5 separate regions of the Homo sapiens genome follow, and regions 2, 3, 4 and 5 are each linked to region 1. The links are contacts of gene promoters, found by promoter capture Hi-C in human tissues and cell types (Jung and others, 2019). All regions are on one chromosome and are shown on one strand. The core of a region is centred on a gene start or on the middle of the fragment in contact, and the rest is flanking DNA. Distances in the headings are between cores, read along the strand shown.

What was found. The method cuts DNA at HindIII sites, captures the fragments that hold promoters and counts their contacts. A contact is called where the count stands out against the background at its distance.
Region 2: a fragment that was not itself captured here is called in contact with the fragment with the promoter of WDR38 in region 1 in 1 of the 25 tissues and cell types used here (dorsolateral prefrontal cortex).
Region 3: a fragment that was not itself captured here is called in contact with the fragment with the promoter of WDR38 in region 1 in 1 of the 25 tissues and cell types used here (H1 embryonic stem cells).
Region 4: a fragment that was not itself captured here is called in contact with the fragment with the promoter of WDR38 in region 1 in 2 of the 25 tissues and cell types used here (dorsolateral prefrontal cortex and mesenchymal stem cells).
Region 5: a fragment that was not itself captured here is called in contact with the fragment with the promoter of WDR38 in region 1 in 1 of the 25 tissues and cell types used here (dorsolateral prefrontal cortex).

The regions. Positions count from the first base shown.
Region 1 is chr9:124,849,705-124,855,278 of GRCh38, forward strand. WDR38 (WD repeat domain 38) reads left to right here and starts at 3,756. Exons shown (of 9, transcript NM_001045476.3): 1 at 3,756-3,896; 2 at 4,501-4,621. The coding sequence starts at 3,828. RefSeq lists a silencer at 3,808-3,857. The HindIII fragment of the contact is 15,289 bases long and covers 1-5,574 here.
Region 2 is chr9:124,369,976-124,375,311 of GRCh38, forward strand. The region is part of intron 6 of PSMB7 (proteasome 20S subunit beta 7); the gene reads right to left. Among named protein-coding and RNA genes, the nearest start is that of PSMB7, 43 kb to the right of the region's middle. The HindIII fragment of the contact is 6,367 bases long and covers 1-5,274 here.
Region 3 is chr9:124,570,175-124,575,612 of GRCh38, forward strand. All of the region lies in intron 2 of NR6A1 (nuclear receptor subfamily 6 group A member 1), which reads right to left. Among named protein-coding and RNA genes, the nearest start is that of NR5A1, 65 kb to the left of the region's middle. RefSeq lists an enhancer at 4,303-5,438. The HindIII fragment of the contact is 4,997 bases long and covers 1-4,724 here.
Region 4 is chr9:124,590,127-124,595,725 of GRCh38, forward strand. The region is part of intron 2 of NR6A1 (nuclear receptor subfamily 6 group A member 1); the gene reads right to left. Among named protein-coding and RNA genes, the nearest start is that of MIR181A2HG, 66 kb to the right of the region's middle. The HindIII fragment of the contact is 3,555 bases long and covers 743-4,297 here.
Region 5 is chr9:124,538,777-124,544,197 of GRCh38, forward strand. It overlaps NR6A1 (nuclear receptor subfamily 6 group A member 1), which reads right to left. Exons shown (of 10, transcript NM_033334.4): 4 at 5,026-5,081; 5 at 1,257-1,411. Among named protein-coding and RNA genes, the nearest start is that of NR5A1, 34 kb to the left of the region's middle. The HindIII fragment of the contact is 3,536 bases long and covers 1,551-5,086 here.

The DNA.
Region 1 (5,574 bases), core at 2,506-5,005:
TTTTGTATTTTTAGTACAGACAGGGTTTCACCATGTTGGCCAGGCTGGTCTCGAACTCCTGACCTCAGGTGATGTACCCGCCTCGGCCTCCCAAAGTTCTGGGATTACAGGCGTGAGCCACCACGCTCGGCCGTGGCTCTGTTCTTACCCCTGTCATGTTGATCATTTCCCCAATCTGGACCAGAACACAGGCCCGCTCATAAAATTTGCAGCTGCCACAGCAGCAGAATTAATGCTTTGTGCAATAGAAGTGGGACTTTTAAAATGCTTTCAAGACTAGACGGCTGGATGGGGGCCAAGAAGATGACCTTTAACCAGCATAATGTAAGGTCTTGCGTGCGTTTCCGAAGAACTCATTGTGTGAGTACCAGACAGGGGAGGGAGGGCTGGCTGGACAGCAGTTCATGGGAAAAAGCTCTCGTGCATTTGCAGTGAATAACATAGCTCTTGGAAACATAAATGCCTCTAGTAATGCAGACTGCATTACTAGAGATGGAGTGTCTAGGAAACTGGAGATGACAGTACCTTTCAGCTTGGTGGTTGTCAGTCCAAACAGTGAGCATGGTTCTAGTTCTGGTCCACACACTTTTTAAGAGGGATAATGACAGGCCAGGTGCGGTGGCTCACGCCTGTAATCCCAGCACTTTGGGAGGCCAAGGCAGGCGGATCACGTGTCCGGCTAAATTTTGTATTTTTAGTAGACAGGGTTTCACCATGTTGGCCAGGCTGGTCTCGAACTCCTGACCTCGTGATCTGCCTGCCTCGGCCTCCCAAAGTGCTGGGATTACAGGGGTGAGCCACTGCATCTGGCTGGGAACAGGTATGTTTTAAAACCTGGAGGGCAGGCACGGCGCGGTGGCTCATGCCTATAATCCCAGCACTTTGGGAGGCCGAGGTGGGTGGATCACGAGGTCAGGAGTTTGAGACCAGCCTGGCCAACATGGTGAAACCCCATCTCTACTAAAAATACAAAAATTAGCTGGGCATGGTGGCAGGTGCCTGTAATCCCAGCTACTCGGGAGGCTGAGGCAGGAGAATTGCCTAAACCCAGGAAGCAGAGGTTGCAGTGAGCCCAGATCGCGCCACTGCACTCCAGCCAGCCCGGGAGACAGAGACTCCATCTTAGAAAAAAAAAAAACCTAGAGGGCAGGAGGAGCAGCTCAGGTATTGGAGCTGGGAGCTGGAACCTCGAAGAAACCAGGGCAATTAGGCTCTCCAACTCCCTCTCCTACTTCCTCTCTTGCCACAAAACAACATTCTCTGCTTCTTGGGGCACCGGTCAGGAAATGCTGGCTCCCCACTAAACTGTTCCAGACTTGGGGTAGGACTGCAGGTAGGGTATAAGAAATGGGGCAGGGCAAGGAAGCCAGGAAGAGTAAGGACAGGCAGGCAGGGGCCAGACAGGCGGGGCCGATTCTTTAAGAACAATTCAACAGATACCTGGGGCCCCTGCCCAGCTTAGAGCTGGAATGTGGCTCCTCAAAACCCCAAGGGTCCTGCCTTTTCTAGTCCCTCCCTTCCTCTCCTGAGAGTTGACCACTCTGGAGATTTGGGGGTTTTGCTTGCTTTTCTTATCCAAATAAATAGAGGGTTCTTTTTTGCCTGCCTTGATTGTTTTCTTTCTTTCTTTCTTTTTTTTTGCTGAACAGATGTTTGTGAGGTTTGTTGTCGTTGTTGTTTTGTTTTTAGTAGAGATGGGGTTTCACCATCTTGCCCAAGCTGGTCTTGAACTCCTGGCCTCAAATGATCTGCCTGCTTTGGTCTCCCAAAGAGCTAGGATTGCTGGCATGAAACACCATGCCTGGCCCTGTGGGGTGTTTTAAGGTTGACATGCGTAGCTGAGGAGAGGCAAGGCTGGTCCAGGACCTCCAGTCCCCTTCAGGGAATGGAGTGACAGTGAGAAAAGCCAGCGCGGCATCCATCCTGGACATCTTGGTAGAGCCCTCTCCCTGGACAGCCTGGCCAAATACAGGAGAGAAGGCGGCAGGCTCCCTGAGGAGAAGGAAGAGATAGTCAGTGGTGGAAAACTGGCAGAAACTTCTCCACCACTTCATCCGCGGAGATGATCCTCCGGACCCTGGCATTCACGTTGGTGGTTCCACCTACAGATGCCTGAGCCAAGCCCACGGGTTTCGACCCCAGCTCCACCCCTTCGGCCAAGCAGTCACTGGGCCTGGTGGACAAGGTCTACCCTGAGGGTTCTGGGAGTGAAGGGCTGGGCTGGGGAAGGTGGCTCTGGGCCCTCTGGATAGAGCAGGAGCAACCAAGTGGCTAGACAATGTGCCCAGGGCCGGGGCATGGGTTGGGGGGGTGCCTGAGCAGGAGAGCCAGAGGGCCAGGGAATAGTAGCTCTGGGGAGCTGTGTCTGGGAGCCACATCTGGGTGTGGGGGGACAGCTTTATAGGCCCAGCTCAGAAGGGTCCCACAGTGACCTAGGCCCTCTGGGATCTGGGATGGAGTGGGACTGCCTCAAAGCTGTCATTGTCGCTCCCTCACCCGCCTGACTGTCTGGGACTTAAAATAGCAGGAGCACAGCGGATCTCCTGAGAAGTTTCTGGCAAAGAGGTTTAGGGGGGGAGGGTGTGAGTCGCCGCTGGGAACTCTTGAGTTTGAAGCTCCCAAAGCCCAGCTGCTCCACCCCTGCCCCCAGGGAGCCTAGAATCCATGGGCGGGGCAGGTGGGGGGTCCTCTGTTCCCTCCCTGTCCTGCTGTGGGAGTGGGGAGACTGGGTCCTGCCCCAGCTCTGCCATGGAAGCACCGGCTAGATGGCTGGGCCAAGTCCTGCCCCCTTCGGACCTCAGTTTCCCAGATGTACCAGGAGTTGCGGACCTCAACATCTGCTGAGAGGTCCCTGGAGTTCATGGCAGGTGGTCCCAGTACAGACACCCAGAGTCAGACAGCCATGGGCTGAAATCCCAGTTCCACTCCTACTGGCTGAGTGGCTCTGAGCAAGTCCTCCCAGCTCTCCGGGTGAGTTTCTTCACCTGTAAATTAACAATGAAACCAAGTCCTGCTCGTTCCAAGCTTCAGATTGCGCTATCCGGTAAGGATCCTGGCAGCTCCTGGGCAACTGCCCCCCAGCCCCAGCCTCCACCCCATCCTCAGATGGCACATTTTGTGCTGCCAGGAATGTTAACAGCAACGTGACCCCACTTTTAATGCCATGTACTTTACACACACTACCTCTGGCTTCCACGCCCTGGAGGACAGAGCTGGCTACTGTCCCCAGCGCTCTCCTGGGACATCCTTAACCTCAGTACTGGCCACTCCTGGACGGAAGGGGTATTGGCTCCTGAGGGGGCCCTCTTGGGCATCTACCGTGTGCCAGGCCCTGTGCTTGGCTCACCCCTGGAGTCCTGTGGGGCAGGGCTGATGCTCCCGGTTGTGCAGATGGGGAGACAGGCTCGTTGCTCCCCTGTATCAAAGAGGTGCAGGGACCCCTTGCAGTTCGCAGTCCGCAGGGCGCGGGGCCGGGCTCTGGGCCGCGCGGTGCGTGTGGCTGGCGCGCCCTCTAGTGGCCGCTCTGCCTGCCGTGTTGCCCCGCGCGAGAGCTGCCCTAGAGTGGACGCGCAGCCGCTGGCGCGGGAAGTCCCTTCTCCCAGCCCGCCGCGGTCCCGCCTGCTGCGGCTCCACCTCCGCCGAACTGCAAGCGGTCTGGCCTGCCTGTCAGTCCTCGTGGCTTCGCAGGGACCCCACCATGGCCGCACGCCCCGCCCCGATTACCATGGAGACCGCCTGTACACAGTTTCCTCTTTCCTCTGCCCAGTCCTGGGGTCCCGCGGCCGCCTAGGAGGGAGCCCGCCGGGGCGGGGCGGGGCCGGGTGCCCATGAACAGCGGGGTCCCGGCCACGCTGGCCGTGCGGAGAGTGAAATTCTTCGGCCAGCACGGCGGGGAGGTGAGGTCCAGCGGGCTCTGCCCAGACTCCCGGCTTTGGATGCAGAGTGGTTCCTGGTTCTGTGTAGTGGGGGTTCCAGAATGTTCTCTGGGCAGTGGCTCAGGACATTGAGTCCAGAGTAGACTTTGCTAACCCAAGAAGGATCGAAGTAGGTTCTCAGCTCCAGTGCCGGGCCCCAGCTCCAGAGCAGCTCTAGGTTCTAAGCTCTGCCTGTAAAAAGAGCCCCGGGCTCTGGGCTCTGCCTCGAGAGGGGCACAAAGCTCCCTGCTGACTCTGGTGTTTTCTGGGGCCCTGGCTCTAAAGTGAACTCAGAACTTAGAGTAGATTCTGGACTCTCCGTTGTCAGCTGCGGCTCTGGAATGGGCTCTTAGCTCTGGGGTTCCAGGCTCTGGTTCCAGAGAAGGCTCTTGCCTCCAACTGCAGGCTCTGGCTTTACGGGACTCGAGAGAGGGCCCAGTGGGTCCCGGGTTCTGGGCTCTGGTGGTGGAGTGAGGCTTGAAGTCAAGCTCCAACCCCAGGCTCTTGGGGGGCAGTGTTTAGGGGTCAGAGATGAGCGGACAGGGGTTTCTTCCCCAGAATGGGACCGCTTTTGTGCTGTTTCTAGGTCAACTCTTCTGCCTTCTCCCCTGATGGCCAGATGCTGCTCACAGGCTCAGAAGATGGCTGCGTGTATGGCTGGGAGACCCGGAGTGGGCAGCTGCTGTGGAGGCTGGGTGGCCACACAGGTGGGGCTCCCACACCTGGCCGGGAAGACCGAGGCACAAGGGTCTGGCATGCTGCAGAGCTGACTGCAGTGACCTCCGATGAGCTGGGCACGGGTGCAAGGCAGGGCTGGGCAGGTTGGGAGATGGGACGAGATATCTGGGTGCTGGGGCTTAGACTCTAACAGGCCTGGACTCAGCCTTCTTTAAAAACACACACACACACACACATACATACAAAAACAACTGTAATGTAACACAGTAATACTTACTGTTGCATCCTTTTTTGTGTGTGACAGAGTCGCTCTCTGTCACCCAGGCTGGACAACCTCGGCTCACTGCAACCCCCGCCTCCTGGGTTCAAGCAATTCTCTGCCTCAGCCTCTCGAGTAGCTGGAATTATAGACACCTGCTACCACACCCAGCTAATTTTTTTGTATCTTTAGTAGAGACGGGGTTTCACCATCTTGGCCAGGCTGGTCTTGAACTCCTGACCTCGTGATCCACCCACCTCGGCCTCCCAAAGTGCTGGGATTAAAGGCGTGAGCCACTGCACCGGCTTTGTTGTGTCCATTTTTAAGTGTACAGTTCAGAGAATCCAGTACCTTCACATTGTCGTGACACCAATCTCCAGAGCTCTTCCTCTTGCAGAACTGAACCTCTGTCCCCACTAAACAAGTCCCCAATCTCCCTCCTCCCAGCCCCTGACAACCACTGTTTTTCTTTTTGTCTCGATGAATCTGACCTCTCTGGGTGCCTCTAAGTGGAGTCACACAGTATTTGTCTTTTTGTGACTGGCTTATTTCACTTAGCATGATGTACTTAAGGTTCAGCCATGTCGTGCTTACCACTGTTTTGACTGTGATCTTGGTCAAGTCCTGTCACCTCGCTGAGCCATTTCCACTGGCACGATGCAAGCAAAGTACCTAGCACACAGTAAGGACTCAATAGATATAACTATTGTAATTATTATTCAG
Region 2 (5,336 bases), core at 841-3,340, 480 kb before region 1:
CTAAGAAAGGGACCATGTCTTAAAACCAGGCACAGGCCTGATCAACAAAACTCAAGGTGAATGGCATGCAAGCCCACCCTTCACATGTCTGAAGGACCACCGTCTATCAACAGTTTACAGAGGGCTTAATGGCAACTCCAGTGGCAACACAGATCTCTTCTGGTGGCGCAGATGCCAAGAAACTTCCCCTATTACACTCTGCCTTTGCCAGTTTTGATGTGCCTTAGGAGTTTTTGAGAAAGAGCACCTTTTTTTTTTTTTTTTAAAGCTTTCACAATAGCAGAAGGTATCCAGGGTATATTTGTTCCGACCATAATCATTTGGCTATTTTTAGAACTGTTTTTACTTCAGCTAGCAAAACCTACACTTGATATAGGCTGTCATGGAAAAAAAAAAAACCTGTCATAAAGGTAGTAATGGCTTTGAAATATCTCATCCAAGCCAACTTTATTCTCATCCCTCTTAAGAATCGCCAGTCCCTTCAAATATTGGCAGTTCCGTTTATTCAGATCTTCCGATATATAAAATTTGCTGACTTTCCCCCCTTGAGTTGATATAGATACATAAAAACTGCAAAGCTTTTTTTTTCTTGGCTAGAAACAAAACTTCTCTGCCTGCCTGTGTAAAATACAGGGGCATTTTTAAATTACCATATGCTTTAGATCACAAGGTAAAAACAGTACAGTAGCAATTTAAAACCTTCCAGCCTGTGAAAGCTGACAATTAACTCAGTGAAATACGGTCCAAGCCCTCACGCCCCCCAATTCTTGTAGGCAGTGGTCTCAATTAACACCTAAATGCCCTGCATTAGAAGGTTTACCATTTTATAGTTTAGGTTAATTTACATATATCATGCAAACCTACACAGGTACTACATTTAAATATTTGGCCCCAAATATTATTTTAAACTTAATTTTCCACAGAGCTAATAAAAAGAAGAAAAATCTTTGCTAAAATTCTTCATCATGCTTCCGTGTATATTAGCAAATGTGCAGTGTGTGACTGTCTTGCACACCCATGAACCCACCACCCCCCTTTCTGATATCGCACACCACACAAGTACAATAAACCATGTGAATATTTCATACCGCTGTGAAATATGCTGGATTATCAATTCAACATCTGCTGTCTTTAGGGTCCGGGAGTCCCGCAGAGACACTTTCAATTTGTAATTGAGTTCTATGCTGAATTAATCAGCAGTTTATCTTTTTTACTAAAATAATGTCTTCACCACTAAACCAGATTTACATTAACAATTTATGCCAAATTACCTGCCAAGGCAAAACTTATAAGATTCTAAGCTACAAACCAGTAACACTCGGTCCTATATTTCATTTCTTGTATTTCTTTAACCCATATACAAGAAAGTGGAAATCCATTGTTCCAAGAGCTTGCGAAACTCTAACCACAGACGACCTCTTGGATTTCTAACAGAGCCTCACTTTTGATGGTGAAATTCGTGCTGGTTTCCTCCTCTCCCCCTGAAAGCCACTGTTCAATAAGTGGTTATGATTCCAAATTTTTACCAAATAGAATTCTAAAATGAAATAAAGTCAGTGAATAACAAAAGAGTATCTTTTATTTCTTTTCCCAATGAAAATCTTCCCATTCTAAATCTTGGCTTGGCTCAAGTAACCGAAAAAAGACAACCTAGATAAAGGAAGGATTTTTAGTGCTTATTATGTACCTGAGACCCAAGTTAGCAAAGGCAATTCAATTTGAAGAGAGCGGTGAAGTCCCATTTTCTCTTTGATATCACGACACAGAACATTTCATTAGCAATATCTTCCTTTCAATTCCACCTATACAGTTAAAAGTCTCCAAACACTTACGAATTCAACACTATCTCTGAATCTAGCTCTCACCTCTCTCTCTGATTCGTCTCTGGTCACAAGACCAGAAGTTTTTTGCTTGCTGGACTTTTGCCACAGGTGCCAGCAGACAACATACTTCGTGAAATATTTCTCCTATATGGTGTATGTCCCCCTACATTTCAGTTCTAGGAAATATGTAAAGCAAAAACATTGCTTTTTACAAAAACACTGCTTTTGTTCTAGGAAATATGTAAAGCAAAAACATTGCATATTACAAATGGAACACCTGCTCCAAAGAAATGCATCATAAATAATTACCTATCAACTACAATAGAATACCTATCCCTTCTTTTCTATCTACTTTGCCAATAGCTGCACAAGGAATTCCCACCACCATACACAACAGCCTCTCTCAGTACTGCCTCTGCATTACAGCACCAAGCCTAACAGCTGGTAATCACTTGGAACCTGATGACATTCTGCTGATGACATACTGGTTATATGAGAATATGAAATTGGGTGTTTACACAGCAGGGCAGAAGACATGACAGAATTTTCAGAAATATTTTTGGGAGAAAAATCAACAAAGTCAATAACAAAGCCAATATACCATTTGTTGATATCCTTTCATTACTCCTCTAAGAACTGGAAATAGAGACCTTCAAAATGTATATAGTCACTTTCCTAAGATTTGTTGATTCTTGAATTCCAGAGACCTGGCCCCAAGAAGGATCCATTCCAAGCTTACGGAGATTTTTGGTAAACTATGCCTTTCCTTCTCTGTTTCCTTCCATCTAACCCCCTTTTATTTCCTGAAATTAAATGGGAGTAAGTCACACTTTCTAAAATTTCCTTCAACCCTTCCCCAAAATATGCCACTTTCAACTTTGACTTTTAATAAAGGCAGAATGCAATGGCAAGGGTAGAAATGAGGACCAGCCACCACCATTAACTGGGGTTCTAAAGATAGAGAGATGAGGAAGACACAGACTTGAACAGAAGAATACACATTCAGTGGCCACTTCTAAGTCCAGGAAGACTAACGAATCCTAGAGAATCAAGAAAGAAAGAAGCAATTACTTCTAAAATTCCAAACCCTGTATGGTAGGAAGCAAAGTCCTGCTCTTGAATCAGGTGAAAGACCGCATAAAATTTATATCTGCTCTGTAAGATGCCACAAAATTCAAAAAGCAAGAAGACTGAAGAGGGCAGCCTTAACTCAAGAAGTCCCTTCCTACCTCTCCAAAGCTGGCCACCAGTGGTCTCCAATGCACAGAGCAAGCTCACTTCTTAAAAGGGGGACAACTCAAAATATCTGGTGCTGGTGGGAACCTTTCACCTTCAACAGAGTTTCTCATCATCATCTATTCTAAAGACATAATGGGTGATTTTCCGAATCACCCACTGAACCATAAATGCCAACTTCAGTAACTGTTCACTTCTAAAATTAACTGGTTAATAGCACTATTAGAAATCACTACTTAGAATAATTCCATACAGGACCCCAGGGATTGTATGTTAGGGTTCAGACATCTCTAAAACCTAACGTTTTATGCTAAATAAAGCCAGAGAGAAAATTATTGGGGAAAACTGATACATCTTTTGATCCAATAATAAAGACAATTTATTATGTCTAATGCTTCAGGTCTTAAGGAAAGCCAATAAGCAGGAATTACGACCAAAAGCAAATGACAGAAATAGCCTCAGGGGGAGCCTCTGAAAAGGCCCTTTCAATATTTAAACAAATGTACAATCATCAACCCAATTACGGCACAAATCCAGTGTATAAAGGAAGCACGTCAAATGTTTCAATTGTCCCATCTAAACGTTTCCATAGTTGCACTAGTTCTTAACAAAAAATCCATCAAAACCACAATAAGATACCAAGTCACACACACCCACCAGGATGACTACAATCCAAAGGATGATAAGTCTTGGTGACAATCAAGGATAGAGGATATATGGAAGGATATATGGAAAGGAGGACATATAGAAATCGAAACCTTCACACACTGCTAGTGGCACAGACGCTTTGGAAAACTCTGGTAGTTCCACAAAAGGTTAAACATAGAGTAACTATATGACCTGGCAATCTTGCTCCTAGAATTTCTCTTCCCAAGAGAAATCATAACATATGTCCATACAAAAACTTGTACACCAATGCTCACAGCAGCATTATAAATATAGTCAAATAGTGAAAACAATCCAAATGTCCAACTAATGAATAAGTAAAATGTGGTATGTCCATACAACAGAATACTATTTGACCATCAAAAAGAAATAAAATACTGATATATGCTACAACACGGGTGAAATATTACACAAAGTGAAAGAAGCTAGGCACAAAAGACCACATATTATATGATTACATTTACATGAAATGTCCAGAATAGGCAAGTGTACAGAGATAGTGGATTAGTTATTGCCCAGGGCTGGGAAGGTTGGGGGAAAATGGGGAGTGATGGCCAATAAGAATGGAGTTATTATTTTTTTAAGGTGCTGGAAATGTCCTAAGATTGACTGTGGTAATAGCTGTACATCTCTGTGAATACACTAAAAACCACTGAACTACACAGTTAGAACAGGTGAACTGCATAGGTGTGAATTATCAATGAAGCTGTTATTACATAGTAATAGAACTAGGTATCCCACACTTTTAGAACAGTAGACCTAAAAAAGTAGTCAAAACATCTGATTAGTTACAAGTCAATCAATAAACTCACACTTTAATATTAATTTTTTTTAAAGCTAAGACACCAGTACCATGGCTTGTGCCTGTAATTTCAGCTACTGAGGAGGCTGAGACAGTCAGATCACTGGAGGCCAGGAGTTCAAGACTAGCCTGGACAGCATAGTGAGACCGCTTATCTAAAAATTTTTTTTTAATTAGCTGAGCACGGTAGCACCCTCCTGTATTCCAGCTACTTGGGAGGCTCAGGCAGGAGGATCCCTTGAACCCAGGCATTCAAGGCTACAGTGAGTTTTAAGTGTGCCACTGCACTCCAGTCTTAGCAACACAGCAAGATCCCATCTCTAAAAAATATAAATAAATAAATAAAAGCTAGGGATTGGCCAGGCACGGTGGCTCATGCCCGTAATCCCAGCACTTTAGGAGGCTGAGGCGGCAGATCACCTGAAGTCAGGAGTTCGAGACCAGCCTGGCCAATATGGCGAAACACCATCTCTACTAAAAATACAAAAATCAGCCGGGCATGGTGGCGCACACCTGTAATCCCAGCTACTTAGGAGGCTGAGCCAGGAGAATCACTTGAACCCAGGAAGTGGAGGTTGTAGGCCAACAGAGTGAGACTCCATCTCAAAAGAAAAAAAAAAAGCTATGGATCACAATAAACAAAAATACCAGCATAAATCCTTATCCTTTTTTTCTTTCTGAGACAGGGTCTCACTCTGTCGCCCCAGGCTGAAGTGCAATGGCACAACTCACTGCAGCCTTGACTGCCCTGGCTCAAGCGATCCTCTCTCGCCTCAGCCTCCTGAGTAGCTGAGACTACAGGGATGTAC
Region 3 (5,438 bases), core at 976-3,475, 280 kb before region 1:
GACTATTCCCCTAGCTGCTCCTTTTCTCTTGCAACATGTGGATTCAGTAATGTGACCATACCTTTCCCCTTTCCCCTCCAGCCTGCTTTTCCCGTTTCAATTCTAAAACCCTCTTTGGAGAAAGGCACAGACCTGTCTACTAGGCGTGTCCTTAAACCTTGGCAAAATAAACTTCTAACTTGATTGAGACCTGTCTTTGATACTTTTTGGTTTACACTAGAAGAAAAAATGAGAAAAAGACAAAAGAAAATGTTACTGATGCCATTAACTGTGTAGGCCTAGAAACAAACTACAATGAACTGAAATGAATCCAGGAAAAAGGCTACTCCATCATCTGACTTCTCAACTGTAGGTGAGGGCAAGAAAACAAAAATTCAGAAGACAGTCCTTAATTCCCTTCTTATCTCCTCTATGTGGGGATCTCTGAATTAGAAACTAAGCTGTTATTTGTAATACAAGGTTTTCATTTTCATAGCAAACTTAGGTTTTCTAGTTGGAGAAATCTATTATTTGTCTTATGTCACTGGAAACTTTTAAGGATTCCTTGTTTACTTGGTGGGGGGTGGGGGGGCAGGGAAACAGTTGCTTGAATCTAAGGCAAAAATATAAATCGTTCTCAGTGGAAAAAATATACAGGCATTTCATTCATAGATAGCTTGGATCCATGCACTGTATCTAAACAAATAAGTATTTTTGAAGTTGGAAGTATAAAGCAGACATTGATTATTTAAAATTCTTACTTCTTGTCTCAAATCATTGCAACATTTACTCACTGAATAAATATTTGAGAGCCCCTCTATGCCCTTTATGTATCTCATGGCAGTGGAGGAGATGGACATCAATCCCATAATTTAAATACAGAGCAGTCAATACTAAACTAGCAAGAGACGATGTAGTGGACACTGAAGAGTGAATGAGTCATTCTGGAGATAGATGGGGAGGCAGAAGGAAAGATTATCTAGAAGAGGTATCACCTGAACTGAGCCTTAGAGTAGAAGTATGTCAAAAAGAATTTCAGCCAGAGGGAAGAGTACAGACAAAAGGGCTTGCTGGCTGTGGGTATTTAACTGTGTCTTAGGAGTGGGTTAGTTGAGGTAGTGGGAGATGAGGAGAGCCACAATGAACACAAACATGCAATTCTGGAGTTAGATTGACCTGAGGAGTCCTTCTGTAGGGAGGCTGTGGGCATGGATGCGATTGCAGAGGACAGGATATGAAGAGAGACTGGAATCTGCAGTAGATATCTTTCTGGCTGTCTGCTCAGCCCACACCAATCTTTTCTTTGAGAGCAGCCACTGCCCTGCCTGTGGGGCACTATGTTTACACTGCTAGACAAGTTGACTGGACCAGGGACAGATAATGGCCACTGCTGACGGGACTGGAAAAAGGCACTGGTTTAATGCAATTCTCTCTATTGCCAAGATTTCACAGGGCTTGCTAACTTCGGATGAGAGTGAGCTGTGAGGTGACTAGTGAGATGGCTTTGTTCCTGAAAAGCAAAGGATATTTGTCTAGGTGGTAGTGGTGATCATGAGGGTTAGGGGATGAAGTAAAGCAGAGGTACTATGCTTCATGGCTTCAGAGGGGCTGAGAGTAGTTCCTGTGGCTCCTGATGACTCCTGCCATCCCTCCTGAATCCCAACTCTTCCATGTTTCTCTGTGTTCCATGCTCTAACCCAGTTTCTTTCCAATAACTTCCATTCAGGGCTTGAGCTAGTTAAGTTTGATGAGTTTCTCTTACTTACCATAAAAAAAAAAAATTGACTATGACAGACCTTAATGAAAGCCTGCCTATATTTAGAGATCAGGAAGAACAAGAAGAGATAGAAAAAAGGTACCCTAGGAGCAAAGGAAAATATGGACAGTACAATGCCAGGGAAGTCAAGGAAACAAAGAGCTGTACTAAACAGAGAGCAGTCAACAGTATGGAGAAACTGAGGCTATGAACTGAGAACAGGCTGAGGGACGAGGCAAAAGGCAGAGCTGGGACTACTGCCTCTGTGCAAAATTTAGGCAGGTGCCAAAACACTCAATCGATATAAATATTTTAATACAAACTTTAAAAATCAAAATACAAAATTAATGCAAGAAAAAGTTTTAAACAGATGACTATCACTAGAATTTTCCTTTTGCCTCAAGGCTCCAATAATGGCCTGGTATGGCAATCATACTAATCTTGTCACTAATCATCTAAAGACAACTTCAAGAACATGGAGGGAAGGAGGTAGATTTCAAAATGTCAAGAAAAAGGTAGGAACAACTGCTAGAGACTATTCTTTCCAATATGTTTGATGAGAGAACCTCCATTTTGCAAGTGAGGAAACTGAATCACAGGGAAATGATTACCCAAGGTCATACGAATTGAGAACACATGAAGAAAGTGAGAATCAAACCTGGTTTCTTGCCCTTTTCGACTCCACAGTGGGCTTAGCTTAGTGGAGGAGATCTGTGGTATGTTCGCACACGTCAGTGGAAGGAATTCCAGCAAATTAATTGGGTGTCAGCAGTACTTCTATAATGAAGCATTTCCACAGGCAAAACAGGCAAGGTGAATTTTCTAGAAATTCGTAAGGGCAAGCTATAGACAAACTGGAGCTCTAAGAAGCTACAGGAAGAGCACTGTGGACATGACAGAGATGATGGTCTTTTCCAAGGTCTGAGGAAAAGGTCACCAGAAATCCTGGGTATTGGAAACTATGAAATAATTGTTTTTCCAACCAAAAAATGAGCATCAAAAAGCATTAAAGTGAGGCCTGAAGGATACTGAGTACGGTTTTGGCATTAGGAAGATTAACTGTGCAACACGAGACTTCATGGTCTTTGCAATTTACTTGTTCTGAACAGTTCATGGTTCAAAGTTGTATTAAGCTGAAACTTTTATAACTAAAAATAGCTGCCAACTTCTAATATCTTCACAGCGACAATGGGGTGGGAAAAAAGAAGGCTCACAGGATCTAGTCTTTGGAGGAAAAATCATCTCTGAATCCCCCCTGGGTAATTCATCTGAAAATGGTAAATGGGCAAAGTACGAAGCCCTCAGCTCTTTTGTCTGAAGAGAGCTGTGAACGCTGTAATTTCTCCTACATGGGTAAAATTTCAGTGCTTCAGTGCTTAAAGGGGTATCAAGAGATCATCTACTCCAACCTAAGGAATGAACACTAGCATACTTCCATAAGTAAGGCATTCACTACCTCACAACTACATAACAGCTTGGACTATTATTAAGTTCTTCCTTATTCTAACTTGAAATCTTTCACCCTGTAACTTTCTGCCTACTAGACCTAACTCCGCTCTCTGAGGCCCCATGGGACAATCTTTCACAGAAGACAACAACATGGTCCCCTAAGCTTTCTCTTTCATGCAGTAACTATTTACTGAGGAAGCCAACATTCGTGTTCCCTTTAAAAGTATTTCATAGGGCATGTCTTTCTGACACCTATCTTCATTATCTTCCTCCACATTTTTATGTCCGAGTTCTTTTTAAATACAGCCGCTACATTGTAATAGTGAAAAGTTGGGCAACCTAAATACTAATCTATAGGAGAGGAGAATGATTAAGTAAACTAACATACATATACAATGGAATAAGCAATCACTTAAAAAGGATAAGACACATCTCAAAAACCACTGTTTTTTAAAGCCGTAACATATATACATATGAACATACACATGCATGCTTTGGTATATACATGGATAAAACTTTGGAAGCAAATTTACCAAACTATTATCAGTGATTATTAGGGTAGAGAGGGAGAATGAAGGGCACAGAGGACAGACAAGAGGACATTTTTACTCTATTTTCTCTTTAGCACAAGTATGTACTACTTTTGTGCTAAAAACATCAATATGTAAATATGTACTGACACTGGAATATTTGTACTGACACTGGAATGTTTCTTTATTGCTGAATGAAAAAAGCAGACATTAACCTTTTCTCTCCACCAGGAATATAAATTTCAAAGACAGGGACTATGTCCTGCGTACTCTTATATCCTAAGACTTAGCAAAGTAGGTGCTCAGAAATACTGTTGAATGGGTATATGTATGAATGAATGAATGGCACCTATATGTTTGTCATATTAGAAATTATGACACTGGTTTCAGAGTTTCAAGATACTTCCCAGATGTCACACTTGCTAGATACCACTCTGATCAGAGGCAGGAGGTAGTAGAAAGAATATTAGATGAGGAGTAAGAATTTAGTCTTAACTATAATATTACTGAAGGAGCCTTAGCAGAGTCATTTAACTCCTTTATCTAATTTCATAACTGCATTTTTACAGTAACTTTCCTACATGAGCTTGAACATCTCCAGTGATAAAGAGCTTACTTCCTTATTTGATGCTAAAATATAATTCCCTGCAATGAAGACATCCTGGTCTTAATATAATCTGTGAACACTGAGCAACCTGCCCAAGCCTGCTCCCTCCCGTTTTCCACCAAGAGTTTGACAACCTTTGGAGTTTAATACCCCTAGTCCCACAACTGATTTATATATCATTTCCCCATCACAGTGGGTGGCCATCTGCCTTTCCTCTGGACATATTCTTGCTTGGAAATGCCACATGAAAATATCATGCTCAGAATCTACTGTGGCTTGATGAGTACAGGAAAGAGAGGGAAATCATTCTTCCCACTCCCTTTTGGATACTACGTTTTAAATGAATGCAATAGAATTTATTACCTTTCGGGTATAAAGTATACACTCTACAACTGCATAAAAGATAATGGGTTAATATTATTGATCAGTCCTGAGTGTATAGTAACTCAAACCTCTCAGTCCTTTTTATTTTCTACTGCTAAGCTGGCTGATTCACATCCTGTAATGGTAAGCTAGGTCTTTGCACGAAACACAGACTTGTTTATTGCCTTGAGTCACTGTGATGTTCCTGCCTATTGAAATATGGGCTTTCCCTCTTAGCTCTGGGACATCAAAAGAAGCCTACCGCCTGTATTACACATCTGTACTCCCCACCTTCATACAAAATTGGTGAGGATTAAGCTAGGCCTGTGATCTCAGGCTGGTCACTAATTTCTCTATCAAAACCTAGTACAGTATATAGTGATTAAGAGCGTGGGCTGTGAAGTCAAACTGCCTGGATTAAAACCTGAGCTTTGGCCGGGCGCAGTGGCTCATGCCTGTAATCCTAGCACTTTGGGAGGCTAAGGCGGGCAGACTGTCTGAGCTCAGGAGTTCGAGACCAGCCTGGGCAACATGGTGAAACCCTGCCTCTACTAAAAGACAAACAATTAGCTGGACATGGTGGCACGCGCCTGTAGTCCCAGCTACTCAGGAGGCTGAGACAGGAGAATCGTTTGAACCCAGGAGGCAGAGGTTTCAATGAGCCGAGATCACACCACTGCCTTCCAGCCTGGGTGACAGATCGAGACTCTGTCTCAAAAAAATAAAAAATAAAAAATTAAATCTCAGCTTTAAC
Region 4 (5,599 bases), core at 1,270-3,769, 260 kb before region 1:
ACATGCTGAAACTTCATAGAAAGGAAAACATTTCGCTAATGGTAAATAGGATGCTAACAGAGAAACAGAAAAATGAGGTTTCGACTCTCTCTACATTTTTGCCAATTGTAATTCAGGCCTCTAATTTTACCATGTTAAGAAAAATATTAAAATATTCTATTTTGCAGCCATACATTTGGAAGAGCAAATAAGTCACAAGAAATACCTAGCAAAAGTAGTTAAAAAAAAAACCCAAAAAGCAAAAACCCTCAAAGAAATACAGGGCCCCAAAGTGAGAGCAAATCCCACTGCTAGCTCATCTTCTCCCCCAGTCACTCTCAAAAGCTCCACTTTTTAAGTGGTGAATATTCAACATCTGTTAAGCAACATTAAAACTATTTTTCCTTCTTTGTAGATCAAAAAGGAGATCTGTAGTTTAGGTGAGGAATTCTAACTCACCTCTGTTCCTAGTGCTTAGAAAATAGTAAATACTTCATGAATGTTAGCTGCATAATAATTTTATATACAGAGATTAGAATAACAAGCCATTGATATAACCCCTGAACCCAGAAGGCAGAGAGGTTGACAACTCCAAAGTTAGTAAGGCAATGATTAGCATGCTAACAACATTCCCAACTTCACTACTTCACAGTAAAGCTCCTGAGAAAGGGCTATCAAACATGGTCATGGCAACTGTCTTGGCATCTATTTATCTATCAAAACACAGGAAATTAAGACTAACTTTATTATCCTTCTTTTCCTGGTTATGATTTAACATCTCTGTTACCTTAAAGCCCATCCCCCTCTCCATTTTCTTCCAATCAACAGAACTGTAAAAGACTTTCTGTAGAGAAAAGGCCAGAAATTTTGCAGGGACCCATTCATGACTAATTATCACTACCACAGGAATAGCATATTAACACTGCAATTGGTTCTAGAAGGCTCAGCAGCTGGCCCCACTGGTTGTACAGCATTTTCAAGGCTAAATTTCCAAAGAGCCCCTCCCTTATTGTTGCTTACCGAATGGAGGCACTCCCTGGAGACCTTAGAGTATAAACACCACCAGCCATAGGCTCACCCAAGAATTCTCTTTTTCTTAATTTCCCTAAATTTGCTCCTCTTTGAAACTCATTTCAATTCAAGCCACATTAAGCATGTTCTGGGCACTCTTGACAGTTTTCTTATTTAATTCCCATAGCGGTCCTGTGAGATAGGTATTACTATCCTCTGTTGCATATATAAGGAAATTGAGGTTCATAGAGGTCAAGTGACTTGGCCAAGTGACAGAGTCAAGCTGATGAGGTTCTTTCTCCAACACCAGGAAGCCTGTAGCAAAGCCATATACGTAGCCAAGTTTTTATGAGCCATCTGGGCAACAGGGGACGAGTCCTTGCCACACAGACCAAGGGATCCATCCAGAGGCAACAGAAGCAGCAGTAGTTTTTGTTTTTTTGTTTTAATGGTTTAAAAATCCTACAGGAATTCTGATTGGTCCCACTAACAATCCATCGAGGCTCACCAGCCGGTTGACTCCTGACCTTCCATGCTTCTCATCCTAATTAATGCAAGGTCCTTGGATCACAGTGTGAGCATCAAGACCCTGTTAGAGTTAGCAATGACCTTTACATCTATCAGGCTTTTCAAAATATGTAAAACAGCTGTGCAGTGTGAACACCTCCCCCACCCCCCACCACACACCCTGACCAACTCTTAACCTTGAAATATGGGTAGATGCATTTTTCCTAATTATAGCGTTTTCCCCAAGTTTTTAGGAAATGACTTTTCACACAGCTAAAAACCATTTGAGATGTAGCTTTTCAATTGCCCAAGCAAACTACTGAGGCATGCAAAAAGAAGATTCTTGCAAATAGATTAATTTCCTCGGCTTAAAAAGAAACCCCAGTAGCAGGGGAACAGAAAAAAACGAATGATGTGAAAAAATTGGTGGTCGCGGGGTGGGAGATTGTTTGGTTGCCATATTTGTGCCTCTGATATCCTTTTGTTCTCCCACCTCATTGTATTAAGGATGCTAAATCAAACATGATTGCAGCGATGTTTGTGTGTGAAAATGACAAAAGCAATGGGCCAAAATCCCAACCTCATCTTGAACCCTGAGGACTTTTATGGCTTTTCCTTCACTAGGCCCTCCCCCTAATACACATTAAAGACCACATTGTTCAAAAGGGTCATGGTAGGTTTCATACCCCATTTTAACACAACGGAAATGGTAACTGAATTTCCAAGTTTTGTTAGTAATATTTGTATGTCCATGGAAAATGTCCATTAAAATAATCGATTCTTTGGTTTAAATATTAATGGAGAATTACAATATATCAGAGGGGCAGAATCAATTGTGTCAAGGAGGTACTGTTTGCGGTGATTAAATCAGATTTTCTTCCTGTACATCATTTTCCCCAGCAAAAGGGTACCGATTAGAGATGGGTTAAAAATATCCAGATGATGTGAGGCATCCAGATATTTTTCCTAGCCTCAAAATTGTCCAGATTATGTCAGTTTTCAACTCAAGAAGCCTAGAATAAACTAAACTTGCTAATTTCAAGCGCAGGTCTCCCCGCCTCCCCTTATTCCATTTGTCTGTCTGCAAGCCACATTATGGACCCCCAGTTCATTTATGCATTTATTCCTGGAAGATTTCAAGTTGGGAGAAGACTATTTAAGGCTGTTTAGGATTCCATTTTTCTCAGCTGTTACCAGTCAGTTGTCACCAGTACTTTGGAAGTTTAGTAGAAGAAAGGTGGCAATGACTCCATTACTCTTTCCAAATGCCATAAAGAATTTGCATCAAGAAAGTACCTAATGAATTAATGCCTTAGTCCTCTGGAAAAGGATACAGTAAAACAGGAATGTTACAGGGTTTGGGAAAGGGGAATCTGAAAAATGAAAATCTGGGCTGGAGTAAAAGAATAACAAACTTGGTAGTGTTTTAAATATCACAATTTCATTGGCGGAACTGCTCACTTTCCCAAGCTCAGGTGTTTTTGCTTAACACCCATATAACATGTATTAAGATGTGGCACGATATCACAACTTTAGTGCATTTAAAAATCAAATCTACAATTTTTGTAGAGTTCTTGACTATAAGTCTGGTTTAAATTATCTCAAAATAACACACTAGGAACATCTGTTTAGCTCAGTTGAAGTTTCGAGAGCCAATACCAGCTGTTCGGGGAGGGATTTCGCACATGTGTTACTCAAATCCTAACCAAATCTTAGTTTTTTCATTCCCTTAATGATGCCTCCAAAACCAACAGGGTAAAGCAAACATTAGAATAAAAAAGAAGAGAAAAAGGGAGGGAGGAAGAGAGCAGAGAGGGGGAGAGAGAGAAGAAAAAAGATTACTTACTCAATGCTTTGATGCATGTGACCAAGACCCAAATGATCACCCTCTCCAATTCAATACAGTATTAGCATGAGGACAAAAGGCATTTAAAAATCAATTTGGAGTTATTTTTAGTGGGGGTTGCCTAATCTTTGCAAGTTGAGGAATGAGAATATTCCCCAACGTTGAAAGGGCACTCAAGTATTTTTCTCCTTTAAGCGGCAATCTAATTTTCACAGAGAATTCATTCGGTGTCATTGTTTTGGTTTTAGGTGTCTGTCCTGCCAGGCAGGGGCTGTGCACAAGGGCTGCATCTATCTTGAAGTGTGCACAATGGCCTCTCTTACGGCTCTCTCTCTCTCTCTGTTATTGATCCTTACAGATGCTCCAAAGCCCTTCCCCCACCTTTCTCCAAATCCCAACCCCCATTCTGAAAGATAGCTTAAGAAATAAGACTTCCTGCCTAGCGACTGGCAGGGCTGAAAGACCAGATTGTATGACTCCACAGATCAGGCCTGCCACAGTGAAAGCTTGAATAGAGTTAACCCTCTGTGAACTAAAACAAAACATTTGTATGCCCAGCTGTGACAAAGGTTAATTTAAATGGACAAGGGCCCAATATCTAAAACCAGGCAATGCTTTTTTTACAGTAGCATTTTCACTGACCTCTTTTGTAAGCAGTTGATTTTGCCTCTTAAGATTCCAAAACCTCCTACAACTGGGATCATTCATTTTGCTTTATTAGAATTTTCAATGAAAGATCTAGGTGAACAATTTTAAATTCATTTCCTTATTTTATGAAAGTTCTTGTTTTGGTACCGTAAGTTATTTTCTGCAGTTGAATGACTAAGAAGAACTGAAGTTTCAAAACTTAAATATGAACCAGGGGAGAACTTTCTGTGCAAACCTTTTTTCTCTTTCAGAGCTAGCAGACTACATATCACTAAGAGACTCAAGCTCGTCGAAAAAAAATCTAAATTCTCCAGAGTCATCCCTTCTAAACTCATGTAATTACTGCTCTGGGACTCTGCCAGCTCCTAAACTCCTGTCCAACAGATCCAAAGCAAATCTTACTTCTTAAACTACTCCTTTCTGGAAAAGCTAGTATATCCAGGATAGTTTAACAAAGAATTTCTATGCATACTGGGGGAGGAGGCTGTTCAAGATAAATAACAGGCCTTATATATAACTGGTATTTTCTACAAACTTTCTCTTGTTTCTGCTAACTTGCACTAAAAACCAATAATTCTGGCATGTAAGGTGCTGGGGTACAACATATAAGGGAGGAATGAAGCCAAGGTTACTAAAAAGAAGAATGCTATTATCAGAGGGGGTCCCACTTCCCTGGTTTGTGCATCCCCAGAGTGAGAATGAAACTGCAAAGCTGCCTTTGGCAGATGTTAGCCACGCTGCAAGAGGCTGGGAAGCTTTCCCAGGACCAGCTATTTCGTAGGGTTAATGCCAGTCCTAGAAATTTATCAACTGCTTCAAAGAGTCGGGAACTCTTCTCAGTAGTGCTTGCCTTTAAGAAAACCAAACTCTTGCAAACTCTTAGCTTGTACTTCATAAACATGGCAAAACTTTAATACTAACATTCATCCATTTTATCTGTTCCTTCAGCTGTATGTGTCTTTCCTGGCCTAAATAATAAAGTTGTGGAAAAGTGGGGTTTCTCACATAACTAGGAGACTATCCCAAATAAACAAGTTATAACACTAGTGACTATTCATTACATACACACACATGCAGAAAATGTACCCATTTAAAAAGCAACCCACTTAAAAAGAAATTAGCAATGGCTTAGTCTTATATCCCAAACTGTAAAGTATAGAAGCTCCCTACCAGAGGATGAGGTTGCCTTATCAATGGCCTCATGACCCCAATTCTATCTATAATTAACAGTAGTAAATAAGACTTTGGCAGATAGCGAACTGGATTAAGGAATTTAAAATACAAACAACATCTGTCAAGAAATAAACAACAATTTTTAATGTAAATTTTATCTATGTACTGACACGTATATTTAATTTTTTTAAAATCACTATAAAATTTAAATTAATCCCCTTTCTTCTGCTCTTCATCAACCACAACAATGAATTCACTGCAGTTCTCTCTCACTTTTCTCCATTCCAAAACATTTACAGCCACTTGCTACATACATGAAAACTTTCTAGCTGAACTCTGCGAAGACACAAAAAAAACAGTTGCCTGTGGACTGCCTCCCTTCTCCCTCAAGGCTATTTGCTCTAAACCTTCAAAGAAAATTTCTAACCCTTAGAT
Region 5 (5,421 bases), core at 2,069-4,568, 310 kb before region 1:
TAGTCCAAGGAAAGAACAAACGAAGGGGCACCTGAATGGGATAAAAGCTTTAATTAAATATGAAGACAAAGGTAGATTTTTGCCTTCCTTTCCTTTCTTGGAGAAAGCTAACCACTCTGTCAACTAATTAAAAAAAAAAAAAAAACCTAAGCCAGCCACAGTGGTGTGCACCTACAGTTTCAGCTACTTGGGAGGCTGAGGTGGAAGGATCACTTAAGGCTAGGAATTTGAGACAAGCCTGGGCAACATAGCAAGACTCCATCTCTTTTTTTAAAAAAAAAAGTATTTAATTAACAACGACAACAACAAAAAAAGACAGAGTCTTGCCATGTTGCCTAGGCTGGTCTTGAACTCCTGGACTTAAGCAATCTACCCACCTTGACCTCCCAAAGTGCTGGGAATACAGATGTGAGCCACCATGCCTGGCATCTCTTAAGAAAAAAAAAAATCTTCCAGCTTTTGCCTAAATGTATCTCCTATAACTGGGGTTGGCAAACTTTGGCTTGCAAGCTAAATCCAGCCCACTGCCTATTTTGGAACACAGCCATGCTCACTGGTTCACATAATGTCCATGGCCATAGCTGTTTTCACACTACAAAGGCAGAATGGAGAAGCTGAGATCCAAACCATTAGGCCCGGAAAGCTGAAAATATTTACTATCTGGCCTTTGCAGAAAAAGTTTGTCAATCCATATCCTATAAGAAAGGTTTCTGGGGAAAGGAAAGCTTCCCTAATAGCTGAAGGATCTATTTCACACTCGACAACTAACTAAAGATATGCTTGAACCAAGAGTTTCTAAGTTTGTATTCTCTGATAGCAGCAAATTTGACTGGCTTAAAAAGCCTTCAATGTTTCTTAAAATTTATAAAGTGAAAAACATTGACTCTTGTGAGGCAGAGAAATTACAGTTTAATTCAAAACTGTCAAAAAGGTTTATTTCAGTGATAAAATAAATGAGGGAAAATGGCAACATTTAAAATGTTATTCTGTTAGGTGAAGAATGCACGGGCATGGATAGAAGCTATAGCACTTTATCAGTCTGCAGAAGAGACCACTGACATTTTCAAGGTCTTTAGCATAAAAGGGGCTGGGAAACACTGTTTTTAATCTTCCTGACCCCTACTCCAAGAGTCTGAGGGAGCAACAGTACAATGGCTGAGACAGCCTGGCAGGGATACTCAGCCAGAGGTTTTCTGTAGCTCTCCCTTTGGTGGGGGATCCCTAGATGATGACCATGGGTTTGCCTTAAAGCTCACCTGGAAGACAGTGTGGAGCCTGGTGAGGGCTGGTTGCTCTCCGAAGCCCTGTTCCCAGGGGAACTGTGGTCACTATCACCATGGTTGCTCCAGTGATTGGCCTCTTCCTCAAACTCCTGCCCAGACATGATCCTTTCGATTTCTTCTTCCGATATCTTTGACAAGGAATTGAGACATGTTAGATGGGTGCTCAGGACACTTGCTCTTTCTTCAGGACTGAGAGCTTATTTAAATCTCATAGGATTTCCCAGAAACCTAGGTTCCCTCTCCTCCATCCCCATATTCCGGGCCTCTCACTAATCTTAGGACGGCGTGGCTTCCTTCCTACTGGCACCATGGCCCTTCGTGGCCTTCCTCCTGCTCATTTACACTACTCTCAAGCCGTGAAGCCTCAAGGTTCTTTCAACTCCTTTTTGTCCTTGAGGCTATTCTTTCCTAACCCTGAAACACCACTCCTCAATGACAATCTCCTACTTGCCCTTTAAGATTCAATTCAAATGTCACCTCTTGCCAGGCATGGTGGCTCATGCCTGTAATCCCAAAACTTTGGGAGTTCCAGGAGTTCAAGACCAGCCTGGACAACACGGTGAAACCCGTCTCTACAAAAAATAGAAAAATTAGTTGGGCCTGGTGGTGCATGCCTGTAGTCCTACCTACTCTGGAGACTGAGGCAGGAGATTCTGGCCTAAGCTCAGAAGATTGAGGCTGTAGTGAGCCATGATTGCACTAACCCACCCCAGCCTGGGTGACAGAGCAAGACCCTGTCTTAAAAGAAGACAAAACAAAACCAAACAAAAAACCCCAAATGTCATGTCCTTTGTGAGGCTTTCTACCACCACATTTTGGATACTCTCTTCAACAAATAGTGCTGGGAAAACTACATCCACATGCCCCGCCCCCAGCCCCCAAAAGACATCGACCCCTTATACCGTTCACAGAAGTCAACCTCAAAATAGATTAAATATTTAAATGTAAGACCTAAAACTATAAAACTCCTTGGAGAAAACACAGGGGAAAATCTTCATAAAACTGGTCTTGCCAGTGATTTCTTGGATACAACACCAAAAGTACAGACAACAGAACAAAAACAGCCAAGTGTGACTACATTAAACTAAAAAGCTTCTGTGCAACAAAGGAAACAATCAACAGGGTAAAAAGATAACCTATGAAATGGGAGAATATATTATCATACATTTGATAAGGGGTCAACATCCACAACATACAAGGAACTCCCATAACTCAGGAACAGAAAAAAAACAAAACAAAACCCACTGAAAAATGAACAAGAAACTTGAACAGACATTTCTCCAAAGAAGACAAATGACCAATAGGTATATAAAAAGATGCTCAATATCACTTATCATCAGGAAAATACAAATCAAAACTTGAAGATATTACCTCACACCTGTTATGTCTGTTGTATGTAAAAGAACACAACAACAACAAAAAAACCCCAAAACAAACAAACAAACAAACAAAAAACCAGTCCAGAAAATAACAAGTGCTGGTAAGGATGTGAAGAAATGGAAACCCTTGTGCACTGTTAGTGGGAATGTAAAACGGTGCAACCACTATGGAAAACAGCATGGAGGTTCCTCTAAAAGTTAAAAATAGAAACACCATATGATCCAGCAATCCCATCTATGGGTATTAATCCAAAAGAACTGAAATCAGGATTGTGAAGAGATATCTGCACTCCCACGTTCACTGCAGCATTATTCAAAATAGTCAAGAAGTGAAAACAATTTAAGTGTCTGATGACAGAGAAATGCATAAAGAAAATGTGATATATACATAAAACACCTTAAAAAAGAGGAAAGTCCTGTTATAAGCTATACCAAGGGGGAACCATGATGACATTACACCAAGTGCAATAAACCAGTCACAGAAGCACAAATACTGCATGATTCCACTTTATGAGGTATCTAAAGTAGTCAAACTCTTATAAGCAGAAAGTGGAATGGTGGCTGCCATGGGCAAAGGGAGAGGAAAATGAGGAACTGCTGTCTAATGAGTATAGTGTTTCAGTCATGTAAGATGGAAAAGTTCTAAAGATTTGCTGTATCAGAGTGTGTATATAGTTAACAACACTGTACTGTATAATTAAAATTTTGTTCAAAAGGTAGATTTCATGTTATATGGTTTTTACTTCTGCCATAATAAAAAAGAGCAGCTATTAGTCCAGACCAAGAAACAAAAAGAATTTGTAAGACATATATATGACTTGAATAACGAGAATAAAAATGTTTTAGAAAAAAAGAATAAACACAGCAGAGTTGGGAATCACACAGCCTGATTGAATGTACGCTGTGCTCATATGATAAGAAATCCCCCAAACATCATCAGTGTATGTCTTAAGACAACTCCGAACACCTTTCTTTCATTCCCTCACATTTAACTGGCTAAATCCTATAAATTTACCCAGTAAATATCTCTTGAGTCTATTCTCTCCCCTCTATCTGCACTGCCATTGCTCTGCTTCAAACTATTATCTGTATCTCTTGCCTGTACTTCTGTGAAAACCTTCTAACTGCTTTCTCTCTCCCTCAGTTTTACTCACCCTCACCTCACTCCTCACAAACCATTTCTACCTGCTAGAATGATCTTCCTAAAATGCAAATCTAAATAAAACCTTTTAGTGGTTGCCTCTTGGCTCATACCAGTAACAATAATAGTTTTTTAAAATTTTATTTGATTTTTTGGTAGAGACAGGGTCTGTCTTGCTATGTCGCCCAGGCTCGTCTTGAACTCCTGGCCTCAAGCGATCTTCCTGCCTCAGCCACCCAAAGTGCTGGGATTACAGGCGTGTGCCACTGCTCCTGGCCACTAGTAATTCCTAAGGCATGCTCTCTGCCTACTAATGTGCCAAGGGATTCACCTGATGGGCAGAGATATATCCAATTTTCTACCCTCATGAAGCTCTTCTGCTGGCAAGTAAGAACAACGGGTAAGAACAAGTGGTGCAGGCTGGCCCAACAAAGACTTTTCCTAAGGAGCTGTAGTCAAAGACTTGAAGGCCACTCCCTAATGAACTGATTCCAAATTCAAGGATTCTGCCTTATCTTCTGCCACTCTACTACATGTGCCCAATGTTGCAGCCTAATTGAACAAACTCCTTGTCATAAAGATTCATCGTTGGGTCTCTTCACAGTCTATTTTCTTGAGTGTCTCTAGTCCCCAACCACGGCTCTAGCCCAAGCAGAATAGATGCCCCTCCCTCTGTAGTCCCTGGGCATCCTCTGTTACCTCTCACCTTACTATGATGTCTGTTTACCTATCTGTTTCTCCCATTAGACTGAGTTCACAGTATAGGGCCTGGAAGAGTAGGAACTCAGTAAATGTTTGTGGGATTGAATGGGGGTATTATCATTCCTACTCTACAATAAGACAATAATATTCTGCTGATATATTTTTTAGATGAAATGAACAAAGCAAAGTAGTCTTGCTCATTTCTGCCAGGCTTAGTTATCTATAACCTTAAGGACTGATCAAAAAGTCCTCTGGATGGTTCAGAACCATAACTGGGTTCACTGTCTGTGAAATCCTTAGGAAAGGCTGAGGGATCACAGGAAGAGCTTTAATCATTAACTTACATATTTAAGATTTTCAAAGCACTTTCACATCCAGGATGTAAAAGCACTTTTACAGAAATGAAAGCAAAGATGGCTCTCCTCAGCAGCAGATGAAAGAGTCAAGGTGAGCAGTTTCAGGAACAGCTGGAGCCCTGGGCTTCCAGGACGGACCACAGAGACTGAGGTCTAGAACTCACCTGGACTGGCCCAATGCTCTTATTCCGGCCTCCAGGCATGCCATCTTCTCTGATAGCTGGAAGGAAAGATAAGTCAAGAAAGGCAGTCAGAAGCACACTCATATAAGTCTTAGCACAAAAAGAGAGTTTACTTGGCCAAAAGCATAAGACAGTAATTAGTGAATCCAACATTAAAACACAGGTCCTTCTGGATCCAAAGCACACAATTCTTTCTATTATTCCAGGCTCCTTCATAGGCAGCAATATTTTGGGGCCCCCAAGGCATTGCGTACATACTACACACACTGTATACATTCAATATGTTCGAAAAAGGTGATAGCACTGCTCACTAGTCCTTCAGTTACAAACATCCTGCCAGGATGATGCATCTTAAGGTTTTGACAAATTCTAGGGGAG